Linked DNA regions of Homo sapiens: regions 1 and 3 are each linked to region 2. The links are contacts of gene promoters, found by promoter capture Hi-C in blood cells and fetal thymus (Javierre and others, 2016). All regions are on one chromosome and are shown on one strand. The core of a region is centred on a gene start or on the middle of the fragment in contact, and the rest is flanking DNA. Distances in the headings are between cores, read along the strand shown.

Evidence for each region. The method cuts DNA at HindIII sites, captures the fragments that hold promoters and counts their contacts. A CHiCAGO score of 5 or more calls a contact.
Region 1: a fragment that was not itself captured here is called in contact with the fragment with the promoter of SLC30A7 in region 2 in 2 of 17 cell types (M2 macrophages and M0 macrophages); the score reaches 6.2 in M2 macrophages.
Region 3: a fragment that was not itself captured here is called in contact with the fragment with the promoter of SLC30A7 in region 2 in 6 of 17 cell types (naive B cells, naive CD4 T cells, naive CD8 T cells and 3 more); the score reaches 8.9 in naive B cells.

What each region holds. Positions count from the first base shown.
Region 1 is chr1:99,746,240-99,749,684 of GRCh38, reverse strand. FRRS1 (ferric chelate reductase 1) reads left to right here. Exons shown (of 17, transcript NM_001361041.2): 2 at 684-788; 3 at 917-1,112; 4 at 2,255-2,391. The coding sequence starts at 917. Among named protein-coding and RNA genes, the nearest start is that of FRRS1, 19 kb to the left of the region's middle. The HindIII fragment of the contact is 1,360 bases long and covers 865-2,224 here.
Region 2 is chr1:100,894,794-100,898,141 of GRCh38, reverse strand. It overlaps SLC30A7 (solute carrier family 30 member 7), which reads right to left and starts at 2,052. Exons shown (of 11, transcript NM_133496.5): 1 at 1,800-2,052; 2 at 1,471-1,572. The coding sequence starts at 1,879. It overlaps EXTL2 (exostosin like glycosyltransferase 2), which reads left to right and starts at 3,300. Exons shown (of 5, transcript NM_001033025.3): 1 at 3,300-3,348. RefSeq lists enhancers at 1,548-1,707, 1,758-2,007, 2,558-2,627, 2,522-3,244, 3,245-3,348. The HindIII fragment of the contact is 2,158 bases long and covers 643-2,800 here.
Region 3 is chr1:99,800,603-99,804,032 of GRCh38, reverse strand. No RefSeq gene overlaps it. Among named protein-coding and RNA genes, the nearest start is that of FRRS1, 36 kb to the right of the region's middle. The HindIII fragment of the contact is 810 bases long and covers 1,663-2,472 here.

The sequences.
Region 1 (3,445 bases), core at 295-2,794, 1.1 Mb after region 2:
TTGTGTTTCTTAATTCAGAAGTATCTGGGCTACATGTAGTAGAATTATTATCTCTACCAATTGGTTCTCTGTTATCCTCAGTTTTCAGTATTGCAAATTAAATAATCCACCCAGTCATCATGATCAGTTTAATAGGAAGTTGGGAAAAGTCTTATCATAGATTTATTCAGGTGATGATATTTAAATCCAGAAGAAACATTTCTTCTTTGTTCTTTAAGCTTTCTAGGATGACGTGGAGTAAAACCTTTTGCTTTTATTGACTAGTTTATTATTTCCAATTGATAATAAAGAAAGCTATTATTTATTATCTTCCTTGTCAGATTTTGAGCTATATTTTCATTTTTATTTAAACAACATTGGGCCAGGCACAGTGGCTCATGCCTGTAATCCCAGAACTTTGGGAGGCCAAGGTGGGCGGATCACCTAAGGTCAGGAGTTCGAGACCAGCCTGGTGTAACTCCGTCTCTACCAAAATACAAAAATTAGCCAGGTGTGGTGGCGCATGCCTGTATTCTCAGCTACTGGGGAAGCTGAGGCAAGAGAATCACTTGAACCCGGGAGGCGGAGGTTGCAGTGAGCCGAGATTGTGCCACTGCACTCCAGCTCGGGCAACAGAGCGAGATCTATGTCTCGAGAAAAAAAAAACAGCATTGAAAAGAGATCTTTGTTTCCTTATTTTTCAGGTAAGGAAGTGGAGGATTAAATGATTTGCCCAAAGTCTCACAGTAATTTGTAGAGCTGAGATTGAAATTCGGGTGAAACTTCACATATCACATTCTTTTTATCAGGTATGTTGAGAATATGGTTTGCTGAACACAGAAAGCAAGTAGTTATCTAGAATTATGGTCCAGTTGTGTAAAAGCTTTTATATTTTAATTATATATGACAATAATGGGCTTTTACCCTTCTTTTTGAGATGGCAGTTTCTGGATTTACTCTTGGTACCTGCATACTTCTGTTGCACATTAGTTATGTGGCTAATTATCCCAATGGAAAAGTAACACAGTCATGCCATGGAATGATTCCTGAACATGGTCATAGTCCACAGTCTGTTCCTGTTCATGACATTTACGTGAGTCAGATGACATTCAGGCCAGGAGATCAGATTGAAGGTACCGTGCTGGGATTAACTGTTTACATTTTGGATTTCACTCTTTTACTGTTTATTGAATCTTTATTATTACTTGATTTAGAAGATTTCACTTAAATCTGTTTTCTTTTGTAAGATACTATCATACTTCTTATTTTTGGTTCCAGATGACTGTATTACTTAAGTAGTCTGTGTATTCCCCATCCAGAACAGGCTTTAAAATAAGTTTTTATCGTTATTTACTATTTTTATTAATTGTGCTATCACTTCAAGAGAAGAGAAAAATGAAGTTTATTTTATCTTGTTTAAAATATAATAAACCCTTGTCCTTCTTGATATCATATAATTTTAAGAACAATTCTCTAATTTCTCTGGTAAAATGTAGGCTGATTATTAAAGATAAATCTATAACAGCATTTTGCAAACTATTTTTTGCAACTCTAGAAATGCAAAATGTTAACAGGTACTCTGTTACATAGAGAGTATATAGAAAAATAAGTTTGGAATATTCTGTGTGATATATAATATACCTTAGAGTTCACACTGTACAGTAGGATATTAAATATCCTAAGAAATTTGCAGTAAAGAAACAAGTATTTACTTTCATCCAGTGTTTTTCTTTTTTTGTAATTCAATAAGAATTTATTGAGTGTCACTGTGAGCCAGACACTGTGTTAAATACTGCAATTCAAAAGAAAACACCTCATGTTTTTTCCTCTAATGAGGTCAAGTAAACATTTTTTTTTTAAACTTTTATTTTGGGTTCAGGGGTACATGTGTAGGTTTGTTTATAGGTAAATTCCATGTCACGAGGGTTTGGTGTACAGATTATTTCATCACTCAGGTGATAAGCATAGTACCCAATTGGTATCATCTAGCATTTTCCAAACTAACTTAGCCTTATGGACTGCCCCTGGACCATCACCTATTTTTCTTTTCTCTTTGCGGAATGGCTATTAATATCTCACAGATTGAATATCTTATGGAACACTGGAAAAAATTTTATGGAAAAAGTTTAGAGCTTCTTTGCCTATAAGATGACTGTTTTCTCTCCAGGAGTACTTTTGCATATGTAGACCTCATTGTAATTGTAATGTACAACCTCTAAACATTTTTTTTTGATATTACTAAGCTTTTTAACCAACCCTTTTGTCTTTTTCTCAGTTACTTTGTCAGGGCATCCATTTAAAGGCTTTCTCCTAGAAGCGCGTAATGCTGAGGATCTGAATGGCCCTCCTATTGGCTCCTTCACATTGATTGACAGTGAAGTGTCACAACTTTTGACCTGTGAAGATATACAGGTTTGTGTTTAGAGTTGATCCTTGAACAATGTGGAGGTTACAGGTGCAGACCCCACCCCTGGGGAAATTGGAAATCTGTGTATAACTTTTGACTCCCCCCAGACTTAACTACAAATAGCCTATTGGTGACCAGAAGCCTTACTGATAACAAATAGTTGATTAACACATATTTTGTATTTATATGTGTTATATACTGTATTCTTACAATAAAGTAAGCTAGACAAGAGAAAAATCTTATTAAGAAAATAAGAGAAAATATATTTACTATTCATTAAATAGAAGTGGATTATCATAAAGGTCTTTATTCTCATTGCCTTCATGTTGAATGGGCTGAAGAGGAGAAGGAAGAGGAGTGGCTGGTCTTGCTGTCTTGGGGTGGGTGGAGGAGGTGGAAGGGGAGGCAGGAGAGGCACCACACTGGTGTAACTTTATAGAAATACATTGTAATTTCTGTCTGACTTTTTTGTTTTTTCGTTTTCTTAAAAATGTTTCTATATGGTACCAATTCTTCCCCGCTTTGCTTTAGTTTCAGTGCTATATCATAGGAGGGTCCATGTCGTAGAAGAAGGCAAAAGCATTGTTGAATAATTGGAACCCTTCTGCCAGGTTGTCTAATGTCAGTTTGTTTGCTGGGACTGCTTCTTCTCCATAGTCCTCATCGTCATCTGGCACTGGTTTGGAAACACTCACCATCAAGTTGTCTTCTGTTAATTCTTCTGTTGTGGTGTCTATTAGCTCTTGAATTTCTTGAAGATTCATGTCTTGAAACCCTTCGTCCCCCACCTTTTTTTTCCATATTCACAGTCTCTTTTATGATTCCTTGATTGGCTCTGTAAATCTTTAAAAGTCATGCACAACATCTAGATACAGTGTTTCTTCAGCAGGAATTTATTGTTTTGGGTTTGATGGCTGTCTTGGCTTTTTCTATAATAACGATAGTATCTTCAATGGTGTAATCCTTCCAGACTTTCATGATGTTCTATCAGAGTTCTCTTCCATAGCGTTGACAATCGTTTCCATCGAGTACTGTGTGTAAAGAGCCTTACATGTCCTT
Region 2 (3,348 bases), core at 803-3,302:
ACAAAATATGCATATACAAGCTATGATACACTCTTGATACAAAATATGCATATATAAGCTATGATACACTCCTGATACAATCAGCACATATCCCAAAATTAATTTGGCATAATTTAGGAAGAGAAAAATGTAAAATATACTGTAAATATTATATATTTATGATAAAGTATGATTATTCAAGTACAAGTGCTTTCAACATCTACAGTATATTAAAGTGTGTTAATACTATGGGATTAAAAAATTAATCTATGATGGGGTATCCTTCAAATTAACACATCTGATTCCCAAAGGATTCAAAATGGTTATTACATATATTAAGATTTCATTGTGCCAATATGCCTTTATACCCAACTGTTGACTAAACCAATAACCTTCATAATCTGCTGGTTATTGAGTATTTTTTATAGAACTGAATTGACGGTTGAATTGAAAGAAGCCCAAGCATTATATAAAAGTATACATGTCACAAAACCTGGTGATATTACCTGTCAATGTTTGATCTCAACAGAAGATCAAGGACAGCGATTTTCTCTGAAAATGGGTCTTAAACAACAGAGACTAAGTCTATTTAATAAATAGAAAACAGGTTCTTAATCTAGAGTCCAAGATTTAGTACAGGGAACCCAACAACATCCTGAAGCTTTATGTACAATTCTGAGTATTGGCTTTCATCAGATTTTTGAAGGAGTATGGGATCTAAAGACAGAATTAGTACACCTAGGAGTGTGACAGTCTTGTTAGCAGAACAACTTCATAAGACCTTAAGTTACTCAACAGCAAATACCTGAATAATAGTAACTTCACTGCCACAGAGTTACACACTAGATTTTCCTCCTCCTAAGGATGTTTCAAAAAAAACAAAAACCCTCAAAGGTGCCACCAAAACCCAAGAAATGTTGTTTCTAGAAACTATATGGGATTTTTACATCGCAGTTAAGACTACAGGAAAATCATGAGACAGTTTCGGCATTAAAGAGAGAAGAGAATGACACATATTCCTCCCGATATCACTTTATAAAACCTCCCATTCCAAGCCCCAATAACAAACTAAGTAGAACATCTCAGATATACTCTCTCAGAATCTTAAGGGTGAAATCCAAATGCCACTCCCCCCCGAGAGAGGCAGCAAACAAGTTTCTCCCAATTCCAACAAAGTGGGTAAACCTAAGGCCTACAATTAGAAATGAAAGATTCTGCCCATCTGCTAAAATAAGGAGGGGCTTGTCAGTCTTGTCTGATGGAACTGGAGGGGAGCGTGACAAGAGAGGTTGCACAGGATAGGCCCAGATCTTACTCAAGAACTGTAGCCCTACCAGATTGGTGTGGGTATGAGAAAGCAACTCAGCAGCAGAGGTAGGTAACAAAGGTAGGACCTGAACCTCCTAGTGAGGAGCTACGTGGCATTAAGCAAACAGTGCTTCGTCTCCCTCACACCCAGCTTCCGCCCAAACCATTTTCCCCTTTGGTTACCAGTTGCTCCAGATGCCGTAGAGTAGTTCCACAAAAGCGAAAGAGAGGTTCAGGCACAGGAAGAAAAACAGGTTCCGGGAAGTCTTGTCGGACAGTATAGACCTGGGAATGATACACGTGGAAAAGAGCCGGGAGAGTTAAGGAGGTGCCGGGACCCCGAGGCTGGGTACCCTCTTCAAGACCCTCCCAGTTCACATGCTCCTTTCTTCACAGCTAGGGGTTGACGGGGAGTTTTTGACTCTCCCTCACTGGACCTCGGGCCATCCTGAGGTCTGGGCCTTCTCCCTTTCTGCCGGACACCCCCTCCCCGCAAACACAGCACCCCGCACCTAAACCAGCCCGAGATCTTGCCGAACAAATTGAACTTGGGTGGTTTGTATTCATCGTCTTTGATGGACAGGGGCAACATCTTCTCTGCCCGGCGAAGGGCCGGGTCTACTCCCCTCTAGAAGTGGCTCCGTGGGGTGATGGCAGTGACAGTAGTGACGCCTCAAACGGGAATCCCCAGCGCTTGTCCGGGGCCGCGCGCCGCTGCGAGACACAGACAGACACAGACACACACCCGGGAATTCGCTTACTTCCGGCCCGGGCCGCGCAACGCGTCCTGGGACAGGAAAGGAGGGAGGCCGGTCGCGGGCGGGGCCTGCGCGGCGGAGGGCGTGGCTTGCGGCGGGGGCGGGATGAGAAAGGTGCTGGAGCTGTTGGAGGGACGCCAGGAGGTGGCAACTACCAGGGGGTGTGAGGGGCTGACCTGGGATGGAATCCTGCCACCCGGACTCAGGAAGAAAATCCTGAGGTGGCGACCTGCAGACTGGGCTGGGAGATGGAGAGCCCGCTCACGCCCACCCGACCGCCTACCACCAGTGTTCCCGGATGCATGGGCTCCAGCGCCTGCCCTTTCGCCATTTCCTCCCAACTGGCATTAAATCCTGGTGTGGTAGATATCAGTGATTAAGAGTCTAGGCAGCCACGTGTTCTATTGCCGCCAGTCCGCAGGAAACGCAAGTGATCGTTTTGCTGCGTTAACTCTATGGGCGCCCAAATCTTAGGAATCCATTCCACGCCACCCCGAAAACAGCGCTTGACCCTTCTGGACTGCCACGCAGGAGGCGATCAATGTTTTTCTTTCTTTATTTTTTTAAGAGACAAGGTCTCGCCCTGTCACCTAGGCTGGAGCACAATGAGGCTCACTACAGCCTGGAACTCCCGGACGCAAGTGATCCTCCTCAGCCTCCGGAGTAGCTGAGACCTCAGGCGTGCGCCACCATGCCTGGCATCAATCAATGTCTTTCAAAATAAAGGCTGTTAAACGTAGTATAGGAAAGAAGCTTTTTAATGGTAGGTTCTACCAGACGTGTTTGTTTGATTTTTAGGTTTGGTTAATGCATTGTTTCCCGTACAATCTCAACCCGCGGAAACCCCGAAACTCTAGAATTCGTGCCGGTCTCTTTCGCTTCCAGGTCATCCCCGGGGCAACGGCCGCCGCTCTAATTCTTGTCAGAACCTCCAGGCCAGTTTCAGCAACGTGCAGGCAGAAGCTGGCCCCTCGGTGGGATGCGAGGGCGTGTGGAGCGCGGGGAGGAGAGCCCCACAGGCCTTTCCTGGGCACCCGCGGTGGATGGGAAGGCTCCTTCGGGCGCCTTTCAGGGAAGTTGTTTGGCTGAGGGAAGGTGGTCCGTCACGTGAATGTTTAAAAGTTGTTACCTTGGAGAAGAAATGGAGGAAAGGATTGGCTTTCGGAGGTGGGCTGGAAACTACAAAACCGAGCTTCCTGGGAATGCCTTTTAGGCCGACAGGAAGTGGAGCGTCACCGAAAGGGAGGGGCGGCCACTCGGGGACTGTCCCTTGCTCCAGGCGCTCACTTTGCGGGCGGCACTT
Region 3 (3,430 bases), core at 818-3,317, 1.1 Mb after region 2:
TGTGGGAGCCTAAGTACAGGATGTCAGAGCCATTGGAAGAAAGCTAGGAGAAAGTGGATACACCAAAGCTGAGAAAGTAAGTGTCAAGAAACCTGGAGTGAGCAATAGTATCCAATGCCACAAAGAAATCAAGTAAGATGAAAGGAAATTATAACTTGAGTTGAAGAAGGCTGTGAGTGGAGCAGATTTGGAAGTAGGGGCAATTAAGAGGTCAATTTCGGACATTCTGAGGTTGAGAGGTCTATTAGAGGCAATAGAATAAATGAGTAGAGAGCTGAGCAGAGGAATTGGGGCTAAAGATATCTTTAAGAGTTGTGGACATACAGATTTGTTTACAGTCATGAGATTGAATATAATTTTCAACAGAAAACATATAAGAAGAGGAGATATTCAAGAACTAAATCTATCCTAATATTAAGAGGTCATGGAAAAATTGAAGAGCCAGCAAAGGACAAGAAAGATGAACCAGCGTGGTTTCAGGTTCACACTGAAAGTGTGGTGTCCTGAGAGTCAAACGAAATATGTCAAGGAGGAGGAGACAATTGATGATGTCAAATCCTCCTAATTTGTCAAGTAAGATAAGCAATTTTAATTTAACGAAGCAGAGGGCATTGTTAGATCAAAGTTCTAGATCAAAGTTCAAGAATCCTTCAACTAAAGTAGTTTCCATGAAGTAGTGAGGATAGACATATATTTGGGTGGATTTAACTGAGTATAGGAAAAGAAGAATTGGAATCAGGGGATGTGATGGTTAATTTTATGTGTCAACTTGAATGGACCATAGGAGCCACAGTGGTTGTTGTTGTTGTTGTTGTTGTTGTTGTTTTGGCAAAAGGGTCTCACTCTCATTGCTCAGACTAGACTGCAGTGGCACATGATCTCAGCTCACTACAGCCTCGCCTTCCAGGGCTCAGGTGATCCTCCCACCTCATCCTCCCTAGCTGCTGGGACTCCAGGCATGTGCCATGACGCCCAGCTAATTTTTTTGTATTTTTTTAGTAGAGACAAGGTTTTGCCATGTTGCCCAGGCTGGTCTTGAACTCCTGGCCTCTACACACCTCGATCCCGAAGTGCTGGGATTACAGGCAGGAGCCACCGCACCTGGCCAAGATTAACATTGGAATTGGTAGACTGAGTAAAGCAGATTATCCTGCCCAATGTGGGTGGGTCTCATGGAAATCCACTGAAGGCCTGAAAGGAACACAGGGGTGAGTAAGGCAGGATTCTCTCCCTGCCTAATGATTGTCAAGCTAGGATGTCAGACTTTGGACTGATACTCAGACTGGTACTCATACCATTGGCTGTCCTTTGTGCTGACTATAGATCTTGGGATATCTGTCTTCATAATCACATGACCCAATTTCTTTTTTTTTTTTTGAGTCTTACTCTGTTGCCTAGGCTGGAGTGCAGTGGCATGATCTTGGCTCACTGCAACCTCTGCCTCCCAGGTTCAAGTGATTCTCCTGCCTCAGCCTCCTGAGTAGCTGGGACCAGAGATGAATGCCACAGCTAACTTTTGTATTTTTAGTAGAGATGGGGTTTCACCATGTTGACCAGGCTGGTCTTGAACTCCTGACCTCAAGTGATCCGCCCACCTCGACCTCTCAAAGTGCTGGGATTACAGGTGTGAGCCACTTCACCTGGCCCAATTTCTTATAAGCTTCTTTATATCTATCTATTTATATCTCTTAGCAGTTCTGTTTCTATGGATAACCCAGACTAATACAGATTTTGATACTGAGAAGTGAGGTGCTGCTGTAACAAATGCTTAAACATGTGGAAGTTGCTTTGGAAATGGGTAATGGGTAGAGGCTGGAAGAGTTTTAAGGTGCATACTATAAATATAGATATTAAGGGTGATTCTTGTGAAGTCTCAGATGGTAACAAAGATCATGTAGGAACCTGAAGGAGAGGCAATCCTTGTTATAAAGAGGGAAATAACCTGACTGAATTGTGTTTGTGTTCTAGTGTTTTTTTGGAAAGTAGAACTGGTAAGCAATGAAACTGGAAATTTCCCTGAGAATATTTCTAAGCAAAGTGTTGAAGGAGTATCTTAGTTCCTCCTGACTGTTTATAGTAATATGTGAGAGGACAGAGATGAACTGAAGAAAGGATTGTTAAGCAACAAGGAACTAGATCTTAAATATTTGGAAAATTCAGCCTATTGATATTGCAAAAAATGCAAAAACATATTCTGAAAGGAACACCAAGGGTGTGGCTGGACTTTCACTCAATAAAGAGTTTATGATATTATAGGAGCAGAAGCACTGTCAGCTTGAACTGAGGGATGGAGGTTGGACAAAATGAAGAAAGGATATTTGACTTCTTAGATTTTGAAAGACAAGACGATAGAGCTATCTGGGTATAAACGTGCACTGTTCAAAGACAGAGAAAAATTGCCCTGAAGGCAATTCAGAGATTATCACGGTCACCATTCAGTTTTAAAAGGCCAGGTGGCCTCTGACCAAAGCTTGGGAGCCAGGACCTCTCTGCAGAGCTGTGGGGCCAAGACCACCATGTACAGCCTTAGGGGGATGACCCCCTCACCCCAACACCACCAGGCCTAGAAGGCAGAGTGTTGAAGAGGATTATTCTCCGGGCTTAAGATCTCATGGAATACCTTGTTGGGTTTTGAACTGGCTTGAAACCAACTACCTTTCCTTCTTTCCTGCTTCTTCTTTTGGAATGGGAATGTTTATTCTATGTCTGTCCCACTATTGTATTTTGGAATCAGATAACATATTTGGTTTCAAAGGTTCACAGCTGGAGAAAAATTTTGCCTCATAATGAATTACATCTCAAGTCTCGGCAATATCCAGTTTAGATGATTTTTAGAGAGACTTTAATAACAAACCTGCACATGTACCTCTGAACTTAAAACAAAAGTTAAAGAAAACCTTATTAAGTTAAGAAAAAATATTAGACTTTAAATGTTAGACTTTAGAGTTGAAACTGGAATGCGTTAAGACTTTAGGGGCACTGGTCACTTCCAAGATGGCCAAATAGGAACAGCTCTGGTCTATAGCTCCCAGCAAGATTGACAAAGCAGATGGGTGATTTCTGCATTTCCAACTGTGGTACCTGATTCATCTCATTGGGACTGGTTGGACAGTGGGTGCAGCCCATGGAAGGCAAGCTGAAGCAGGGTGGGGCATTGCCTCACCGGGGAAATGCAAGGGGTTGGGGGATTTCCCATTCCTAGCCAAGGGAAGCCGTGAGTGACTGTACCTGGAGGAGTGGTACACTTCTGCCCAAATACTGCACTTTTCCCATGGTCTTCACAACCTGCAGACCAGGAGATCCCCTCCTGTGCCTGGCTCAGCAGGTCCTATGCTCACAGAGCCTTGCTTGCTGCTAGCGCAGCAGTCTGAGATCAACCTGGGATGCCGGAGCTTGGTGGGGGGAGGGGTGTCCACCATTGCTGAGGCTT